Linked DNA regions of Homo sapiens: region 2 is linked to region 1. The links are contacts of gene promoters, found by promoter capture Hi-C in human tissues and cell types (Jung and others, 2019). All regions are on one chromosome and are shown on one strand. The core of a region is centred on a gene start or on the middle of the fragment in contact, and the rest is flanking DNA. Distances in the headings are between cores, read along the strand shown.

The links. Contacts are between HindIII fragments. The study calls those that stand out against the background at their distance.
Region 2: a fragment that was not itself captured here is called in contact with the fragment with the promoter of HS3ST4 in region 1 in 1 of the 25 tissues and cell types used here (dorsolateral prefrontal cortex).

The regions. Positions count from the first base shown.
Region 1 is chr16:25,689,022-25,694,272 of GRCh38, reverse strand. It overlaps HS3ST4 (heparan sulfate-glucosamine 3-sulfotransferase 4), which reads right to left and starts at 2,314. Exons shown (of 2, transcript NM_006040.3): 1 at 1,122-2,314. The coding sequence starts at 1,855. RefSeq lists enhancers at 569-1,069, 1,070-1,570. The HindIII fragment of the contact is 9,278 bases long and covers 1-5,251 here.
Region 2 is chr16:27,115,093-27,120,343 of GRCh38, reverse strand. No RefSeq gene overlaps it. Among named protein-coding and RNA genes, the nearest start is that of C16orf82, 51 kb to the right of the region's middle. The HindIII fragment of the contact is 3,082 bases long and covers 1,664-4,745 here.

The sequences.
Region 1 (5,251 bases), core at 1,065-3,564:
AAGCACATCTCCTCAACGGGCAGGCAACCTGTCAGAGAAACAATCTTGATTTTACCTATTGGCTCTGCTAAGATGATAACATCACTTCAGCTGACAAAGGCTGTGTTTCTGTTTGACATTTGCAATTAATTACCGAAATGCAATGGAGATGCAGCCAGCCATGCAGATCTGTTTCCCAGAAAGATATAAAACAGGAGGAAAGAGAGAAAGAGAAACAACAAAGGCGAAGGAGGTTTGCGTTTGGGGCATCTGCACCAGTGCCGTTTAAAATGTTATGGCTGGCAGGAAAGCTGGATTATTAATTTATTTTACCTGCACTTAACTTTCTAGTCCTCTCTCCTACCTTTCTCTCACCACCGGCAGACGGTGGGAAAGGAGGGAGATGAACATCTCACAAGACAGAAGCTCCAATCTGTTGCGAAGGAGGCGGAGATTAGACAGGGCACGGTCTGAGGCATAAAAACTCTCAGGGCACCAACTGTCATGCAGACATTGAGGCTTCTGGTGCAAAATCAACTCCGTGCTCATTCAGCCAAGGGGGATGGAAAGTTACGGAGGTGGGAGGCATCCTTTCTTTACTAGAAAGCCAAAACGCCAGCATGATCTTTGTAACTGTTCCCTATTCATTTTGCTCTGACCTTAACACACTAAAGTTGAATTCCAGCCACGCAAATGCGTTTGAGGGTGATTTTAAGAGATTCCAGGGGACCTCAAATCCCCTTAGTCAATTTAGCCATCCTGTCTCACTCCTCAAAGTCCTCTGCCCAGAATCCCAGAACCCCGCAAGAGCCTGGTTTCGGAAACACCCAGCAGGCAGGAGGGCTGGGGGTTCCCAGGCTTGGAGCTGGGCAGATTCAGACAGCACCTCCTTGGATGAGGAGCGCGGGAGGCAGGGCAGGGTGACACCTCCTCCCCTCGCCCTGAAATAAAGTGACCTTTCGCTGGAGTCCAGCCCTCTCAGCCGATCCCCCTGAGCAACGCCGCCAGGGTTTGCAGAGCCCTCGCGGGGGCTTGGGCCTCTCGGGACGGTGCCTGGATGCTCGAAGGGCGTGGAAAGCCGCGGCTTCCCCTCCGCGTCTCCCCCACGCGTCTCCACCAGCCCGCGGAGCCCAGGGTCCTACCTGTACCACTCCAACCCCTTTTCGTAGTTCCTGTCGAAGAAGTGCGGCTCTACGCCCACCGCCCGCACGTCCGGGTGCACGCGGATCGCCTCCAGCAGCGCGCGGGTCCCTCCTTTCTTGACCCCGATGATGAGCGCCTGTGGCAGCTTCTTCTCCCCATAGTCGGGGGTGCTGACGGCGCCGCCCCTCTCGCTGCTCCCGTTGGCCGCTCTCCGGCCTGCGAGATCCTCGTCGGTGGTGCTGGACTCCTGCGCTTCCCTCTCCGGCAGCGCGCTCTGAGCCGTGATCATCTCGCTGGGGGCCAGCGGGGTCCGGAGCCAGGCGTCCTGGGCGCCTCCGCCGCCGCTCGGCAGCCCCCAGCCGTCGGTCCCGGGGGCGGCTGGCTGCTCTGGGGGCTCGGGCGGCTCCCCGTGGCTCGCGTTGTCCAGCGGCGGCGGCGCGGGCGGCTGCGAGGGGGCGCCGAGGCGCACGGGGGTAGGCAGCAGAGAGGGTGGCGGCGGGCTCGGCGGGGGCTCGGCGGCGGCGCCCGGCGACTCCTGCAGCGCCAGAGGGAATTGCAGGGAGCCCGAGCCGCCCAGGAGGCTGTAGCACAGGTAGGTGACAGACAGGGACAAGGTGCACATAAAAAGCAGCTTGCGCGCCGGCGGCCCCTTAGCAGAGGCGCCGGGCGGCGGCGGCGCGGCCAGAGGTGGAGGCGGAGGCGGAGGCGGAGGAGGTGCGGGCCACCGGGCCATCGCGGCTCCCGGCTCGCGGCGGCGGCGGCGGCGGCGGCAGCCCCCGGCGCTGCCCGGACATGGTTTCAGCCGCCGCCCCCGCCGCCGCCGCCGCCGCCGCCGCCGCCGCCGCTGCCCAGCCGCCCCGGCTGCATGAAGCGACGCCGCTGCGCCCCCGGCCCTGGCCGCTGTCCCGCTGCGCCAGGGGGGAGCCCGGCCGCATGGCCCCCCGCCCCACGCTGCCCGCCGAGTCCGGGTGGCCCCCCCACCACCGCCCCCCCCTCAGCCTCAGGCAAGGGGACCGAGGGGGGCGCGCGGACCCGCCGGCGGCACCTGCTCCGTCTGCAGCGCCCCCGCTTCCCCGGCTCCGCCGCGGCTTCTGCTTCAGCCTCTGCCGCCGCCGCCGCGCGCTGTTGCAGCCCGGAGTTCCTTCCCCGCTGCTAACTTTCTGCCGGGAGAGAGGAGAGGCGCGGAGGGGAGGAGGAGGGGGCCGGGCGCGCGCCCGGCGCCGCCGAGGGAAGGGGGGTGCGCCTCGCGCGCGCCTGCGAAGGGGGCGGGGGAGCGGAGGCGTGCGCTAGGGCTGGGGCACCCGGGAGAACGGAGATCGTGCCCCCCAGCCCCCAGCACGCACGCACTTGGGGTGTTCCCCACCCCACCTCGTTTACTCCCCTCCCTTGGGAGCTCGGGACGCCGTGTTCTCCATTCCTTTGCCCCAGTACTTTTAGAGAGGTAAAGCCCAACGCCTGCCTCCGGTGCCGCGCACCGGGAGCTGGAAGACAGCGGGTGACGAAGCTCTCGCTTCCGCTTTTCCTCTGGGACTCCAACTCAGCCCATCCCCGACCCTCCCTTCTCTCGCCCGGGATATCCTCCTGCCTTCGGTCCAGGAGTGAATCCTTTTCTACAACCGCTTTCCCATCCCAACTTCCATCTTTCCAGCCACCGCCCCCCGCCCCCCATCTTCTCTTGAAGCTCCTGATGGGTGGAGCTTTGACACAAGCCCCCAGGTTTCCCAGCCCCAGAGCTTTTCCCTCTGTCCCATCACCAGGTGACAACACTTTCTGCTTCAAGAGATGAGGCTGCCCCTCCTCGACACCCTTAATCACAGGTGCACACACCTGCGCCTCTTCGGGGGCATTGCCACTAACGGAGTTCATGGTTTCCTGGACTGAAATAGTGTGGGACCACTGTCGCTCTGAACACCTAATAAGCGGAGACAAGCTGGGTTGCTGGGTGTCTGTGCATCGGCTCGCTGAAATTTTTTAAGTGTATTTTCTTTGCAGAGAGATCTCCACCCCTCACCTCCCTCTCCTGGGGGAACATGGTAAACATCAGAAGGCTTTGGAAGATTCACAACTAGACTTTGCTTCCTGTTGCATTTTGCTCAGGGAAGTGAGGGAAATGGGAGAAAGAGACAGAGTGATCAACTGAGGCACTCCAACAAACTCAGCTTTCTGCAACCGGGGCTGGCTCTGCACAGAGCTCTGCCAGGTGCCTCCTGGGGGTGGCTCTAGTGAGTACCATTTGCCCCCCAGCCACAGCTGGGTGCCTGACGGGGCTGCTTTTCCCTTGTTGGCTGCTGTGGCTGGCATCTCTGGTTTTGTTTGATCACGTAATAGGAAAACCAGTTGAAAGAAAATGTATATAATGTCTAAATATTAACGAGATACCTAGTGCCAAAGAGAAAAAAAATGTTAATCAAATAAGATAAAGAACACGGACTTTTCCCTGAGTGAACAAAAGCTCACTGCTGCTCTCAGCTGGACACGAGTTTCCTTCACTGCAGCTTTAGTTCAGATAAAGATTATTCTTTTATAATATATTTTTTATGGTACACTGGAGACCTCTGAAATGCAGAGTCTGGTGTCCTGTAAATCATTCTGTGTAACTAGGGATGCTTTTTCAAACAGCACACAACTGCATTACTGTAATGTCAATGGGAAGGGGCCAACTGGAACGGAGAGAAACACAAGCACTGCCCAGCCCTCCCTGTGCTCCGAGCCATGATCCAAGGTGGTCATCTAGGAAGCCTGGGTTGCAACAGATATTGCCTTGTCAGCGACCAGTCTCCCTTTCAAGGCCCAGGCACTAGATGTCTGGCATATGGCCCAGGTCCTCCTTGCAGTTCCTGCCTAGCACCCAAACTTTTCTATCTCCCCTCTCAGCAATCCAAACGAATCTGCTCCATGCCCAGTTTTACTAAAGATGGGCTCTCAAATTTCGAAAGGTTTTGGTAAAAAGGTATCAAAACCGATGGTGGCAAATGGAGCTCTGAATGTGGCCAGCACAGTGACATTAAGAAATGTAAACTGGCTGCAATAGTTTAAACTGGGGGCTTTCCCAAAAAAGGAAAAAAAAAAAACACCTTGGAGAGGACGTTACTGTTGAAAAATCAGCAGATCCTGAACTTTGAGCCCCTCAGTCAGAGCTGAGAAGTAGAGTGAACATGCTGCCGTTTTCACAGTGCTCATACAAGTTGCCCCCCCACACATTTATGTCACTTGCCTTGACACTGCTAGTAAGGACATTTCTCAGTATCCCTTTTGCCTCCAATCCTCAAATAGTCACGCTTTAATAACAAACTCTTGAAAGAATAGAGCCCCTTTGGTAAAATGTCAGGCCCACAAGTGATAGGGAGGAGGCGGGCTTTTTTGGAGAGGAACTTTGTAAATTTCACACTTAGGCAGTTGCCTATTTTTTATCTACTTTTGAGCCACGCTTTTTCTAGGAGCAAGTCCTTGAGAAACCTACAATGAAAAGTGGGAGCTACCTACACAGGGCGAACTCTGACGTCATCCAGGCATTCCCAATGGATCCGAAGACTCGATGGAAGATAGTTTTCTGTCTCCCCTGCCAACACCCACAGAATTCCTCTAACTGGTCTCCTGGCCTCACTCTGCCTCATTTCCCTTCATCCTAGAAAACAATAGCAGATCAATGTTTCTGAGGCAATGTTTTTTTAGCTCTACCAATGTCCCCCCGACTCAAAAAACCATTATCTCACTACCTAACTAATAAACTCCAACCTCTTTACCTTGGTACTCAAGATTCCCCCTACCTTTGGTGTATCTCGCAGTCCTGCCAAACCAAACAGTGCATGCTGTCCAAACATACACACTGCGTCCTTCTCTTCTGTCTCCGTAGTATCAGATGATAGCATTTGAGCAAAGCTGTCATTTGCTAGCCAAGTGGCTTTTGGAAAGGTCATTTTACCTCCCTCAGCCTCAGTTTCTGCATGTATAAATTATGGATAAGACTCACCTCAAATTGTTTTTATAAAGAATTAAATTGAATTAGCTAGAATATGCAAAAATCCCTGGCTCCCTGCCCGACATGGGGTGCCTACCAATAATTATTCAAATCTAAATATTGGCCTATGCCATGCTCTGCTTCCTTTTCCTATTAAAACTTTATTCTTGA
Region 2 (5,251 bases), core at 1,955-4,454, 1.4 Mb before region 1:
AGTGATGGGTTGATCTGTGCAGCAAACCACCATGGTACACCTATGTAACAAACCTGCACATTCTGCACATGTACCCCAGAACTCAAAATAAAAGTAAAAGGAAAAAAAGTAAAGTAAGAGTATAGATTGGAAAAAAAAAATTGGCAAAGGATCTGAATAAACATTTTTCTAAGGAAGACATACAAATGGCCAACAGGTATATGAAAAAGTGCTCAATATCACTAATCATCAGATAAATGCAAACAAAACTACAGTGAGATATCTCGCACCTGTTAGGATGACTATTATCAAAAAGATAAGAGTTGGCAAGTGCTGGTGAGGGTGTAGAGAAAAAGAAATGCTTATACACTGTTGGTGGAAATGGAAATTAGTATAGCCATTAGGGCAAACAGTATGGGGGTTCCTCAAAAAGCCACAAATACAAGTACCACATGATCCAGCCATCTAACTTCTGGGTATATAGCTAAAGGCTGTGAAATTGCTATGTCGAAGAGGTATCTGCACCTCATGTTCATTGCAGCTGTATTCACGGTAGCCAAGATATGGAAACAACCTAAATATCCATGGATGGATGAATGGAGAATATTATTCAGCCATAAAAAGGAATGAAATCCTGTCTTTTGCAACAACATGGATGAACTTAGAGGAAATTATGGGAAGTGAAATAATCTAGACCCAGAAAGACAAATAATGTATGGTCTTATTTATATGTAGAATATTAAAAAGTTGAATTCATAGAAGTAGAGAGTAGAACAGTAGTTACTGGGTACATGGGGAAATGGTGGTCACAGGGCACAAACATTCAGTTATAACATGAACAAATTCTGGGGATCTGGTGTATGACATGGGTGATGATGGATATGTTAATGAATTTGATTGTGGTCATCATTAAACAATGTATATCAAATCATCAGTCATACACCTTAAAATATAAAATCTTTTTGTCAATTAAATACTAAACAAACACATAAAAAATCCAATATATGCACTGCTGAATTGGAGGTGGAACAGAATTTTACAAACTTCAATAACTCACACTGCATCATTAATGCTTTTTTGCCATATTCGGGTACCACCTATACTACTACTAACTTAATAGTCTTCTTTAAAGAGAGTCAATTTTAAAAAATAAATTTATTTAAAAGGAAACTTTACTTTGTCACCCTACATGGAAAATTGGCATCATTTTCCGTAAATAGGAGGTAATCATGAAAATGAATATGATGGGAACACACCAGTGTTTTGTAAGCTTAAGTAGAATATTCTCTTTTCTCTTGAAGGCTCTAAATCTGAGGTCAGTGCTTTATATATTGATAAAGACTAGCAGTGTTAGACTTTTAGGGAGGTGTTAAAGACATATTATCACCAAGCTGAGACTTTCTCATAATTATGAGGCTTTTGAGATAATTGATCTGGGAAGAATTTTCTCATTACGCAGCTCAATGTTTTTTAACGCTTTATTTATTTTCACCAAAAATTATCGTATTTACCATCTAAAATTGTGTTCCATTATGGGTCTGTGTCTGTGGTAGAGAAAATTATTGCTCTCAAAATATCCACCGTCTTCTCTAAGTTTCTCAACTTCCTTTGCAGATGGTTGGGATCATGTGACTTCTTCTGGGCACTGGCTGGTGAGTGCTACTATTGGGCTGTGGCAGTGAAGTGCCGTTTCACTGCTGGGCTGTGGCAGTGTAATGCTAGTGGGCTTTTTCCAGCTCCCTTTTGCATTCCATCCTCCTCCTTGCATTCCAGATATCACAGCCATAGGGACACCTGGACTCTACATGAGTGAGAAATACATTTACTGTGCCAAAGCACTGAGATTTCAGGTTAATTTGTTACTGCAGCATAGTCCAGGGGCACCCAATCTTTTGGCTTCCCTGGGCCACATTGGAAGAACTGTCTTGGGCCACACATAAAATACACTAACACTAATGATGGCTGATAAGCTAAAAAAAAAAAAAAAGCGCCATGCATAAATCTCATAATGTTTTATGAAAGTTTTTGAATTTGTGTTGGGCCACATTCAAAGCCATTCTGGGCTGCATGTGGCCTGCAGGCTGCAGGCTGGACAAGCTTGGTTTAAGCTATTCTGACTGTTGTGAACATGTGGCCCCCACTTGGGAAATATTATCTTTGAAAAACTTTTTTTTTTTTTTTTTTTTTTGAAATGGAGTCTCATTCTCTTGCCCAGGCTGGAGTGCAGTGGTGCTATCTCAGCTCACTGCAACCTCTGCCCTCTGGGTTCAAGCAATTCTCCTGCCTCAGCCTCTCAAGTAGCTGGGATTACAGGTGCACGCCACCATGCCCGCCTAACTTTTGTATTTTTGGTAGAAATGGAGTTTTGCCATGTTGACCATGCTGGTCTCGAACTCCTGACCTCAAGTGATTTGCCCGCCTCAGCTTCCCAAAGTGCTGAGATTACAGGCGTGAACCACCACGCCCGGCCTTTCTTTGAAAAACTTTTGACTAATGTTGGGCCTTCTCAGTTGGGACCCTTATTTCCTTTCTCCTACTCTCCTCCCTTACTGTTTCCTATTCTTCTTCCTTCTCTCTTCCTCCTCCCCTCCCCATGCATTCAGCTAATTCCGTCTCTGATTACCCAACATCACTCTGGGCTCTGCTGGAAGACTCAGAGCCTATAAAGCTTCAGAGGGGCCTCAGTGTTATTTTAGTCAGGCAAACTCCACAGGTAGGAGTTACTTCTCCACACCTCTGACAGTGTCACTTGCATACCTGCAGGAATAGGAAACTCGCTTCCTTTCATGGTAGTCCTTTCCATCACTGGGCAGCTCCATCTAAGAGGCACTTTCTCTTGTGATTAATCAGACAACATTTACACCCCCAGTCATTTCTACTCTTCCCCATGCAGAGTTCTTGCAGAATAGCTGTCCCTGATAAGGACAGCCCTTCCGAGGCCCAGGAAGAAGTCTCAAGGCTTCTCAGGCTCATTCAAGTCGCAAGACACACACACACCCAATGGAGGATTCTGGCAACGTACCATGTGGTAGAAATGTCAGTCCACATCTCAGGTGCATGGGAAATATCACTCTCTTTATTCATTCACTTCACACTATGGTTGGGATGTTTGTCTCCTCCAAATCTCATGTTGAAATGTGATTCCCAATGTTAAAGGTGGTGCCTAGTGGGAAATGGGGGCAGATCCCTCATGAATGTCTTGGTGCCCTCCTGGTGGTAATGAGTGAGTTCTCATTCTATTCATGTGAGATCTGGCCGTTAAAAATTTAGAGCCTGGGAAAGATGGTGACCAGAGGCTGCGAAGGGTAGTGGGGGGTGCCGGTTGGTGGCGGGGAGGAGTTGGGAAGGCTAATGAGTACAAAAATAGTTAGAAAGAATGAATAAGGGCCAGGTGCAGTGGCTCATGGCTGTAATCCCAGCACTTTGGGAGGCCAAGGCGGGTGGATCACTTGAGGTCAGGAATTCAAGACCAGCCTTGCCAACATAGTGAAACCCCATCTCCACTAAAAATACAAAAATTAGCCAGGTGTGGTGGTGGGTGCCTGTAGCTCCAGCTACTCAGGAGGCTGATGCAGGAGAATCACTTGAACCTGGGAGGAGGAGGTTGTAGTGAGCTGAGGTCATGCCACTGCATTCCAGCCTGGGCAACAGAGCGAGACTTCATCTCAAAAAAAAAAAAAAAAAAAAAAAAAAAGGAGAATTAGACCTAGTATTTGATAGATTTGATAGCACAACAGTGTGACTATGGTCAATAATAATTTAATTACACATTTATAAATAACTAAAAGAGTGTAATTGGCTTGTTTGTAACACAAAGGATAAATGCTTCCAATGATGGATCCCCCGTTTACCTTGATAGGATTATTATGCATTGCCTGCCTGTATCAAAATCTCTCATGTACCCCATAAATATATACACTACTATGTACCCACAAAAGTTGAAAAATTAAAGGAAGAATAGAGTCTAGGACCTCCCATGTCTCTCTTGCTCCCTCTCATCATGTGACACGTTGGCTCCTCTTCCTCTCTGCCATGATTAAAAGCTTCCTGAGGCCTCACCAGAAACTGAGCAGATGCTGGCACCATGCTTGCACAGCCTGCAGAACCTTGAGCCAAATAAACCTCCTTTCTTTTAATAAATTACCCAGCCTCAGGTATTCCTTTACAGCAATGCAAAATGGACTAACAAAGTTCATAACCATGTTTAATTTGTGTCCATTCTTCCAATCAATTTAGGTTTCCTTACATTCCTTGGGGTTACCCCTAAGTTCGGCAGGGGCGGAGGTCAGGGTGTTGGGGAGGGGACATCCATGATTTTCTGAGATTCTCAGCCAGTCTTTGACGTCAGGCCATGCGTGCTGCTGTGGCGCTGTGTATAACTGCATCCAAGTCTGAGGGATGCTCCTTGCTGCCCTCGAATGCCAACTCCTGGGTGCATTGAGATCAGGTGGGTGCCCATGCTAAGTTCAATGAGATGCACTGGGAAGTTACTGAGCTTTTCTTTCCTTTTCTTTTTCTTTTCTTCCTTTTTTTTTTTCTTGTTTTTTTTGAGGCGGAGTCTCACTCTATCGCCTAGGCTGGAGTGCAGTGGCATCATCTCGGCTCACTGCAACCTCCACCTCCCAGGTTCAAGTGATTCTCCTGCCGCAGCCTCCTGAATAGCCGGGATTACAGGGATGCGCCACCATGCCCAGCTAATTTTTGTCTTTTTAGTGGAGAGGGGGTTTCACCACATTAGCCAGGCTGGTCTCAAACTCCTGACCTCAGGTGATCCACCTGCCTCAGCCTCCCAAAATGTTGGGATTACAGGCATGAACCACCACGCCCAGACAATTACTGAATTTTTCTGAACCCTCCTGAGTCCTTCACCACGTCCACATTGCTCTTACACGCCTGGGACTCCTGCACTGCTCCACACCAGCTTGTGCATGGAGAGCTCTGGAAGCCTCTCCCAGCTACATTAGTCTAGGCACCGCCCCTACCTTCACAGGTCCACCTTCCTCTCCTGATTGGGCTTCAGCCTGGGTGGGGAAGACCCGGGACCCTTTCCCAGGGACCCTTCAGCATCTCATTCTCTTTGCTGCTCTTCAAATCCCTGGCATGGGGCAGGGCAGTGCTGGCTGCCTTACGTGCCTGGGTCTCATTGCTCCTTTCCACGACCCCAGTATGTTGGGTTCCATTTGGGTTTCCTTTTTAATAGATGGCGGAACTGAGGGCCAGAGAGGCAATGGGCATAGCAGAGCCAGGAGTGAAACCCAGGTGTGTCTGAGCC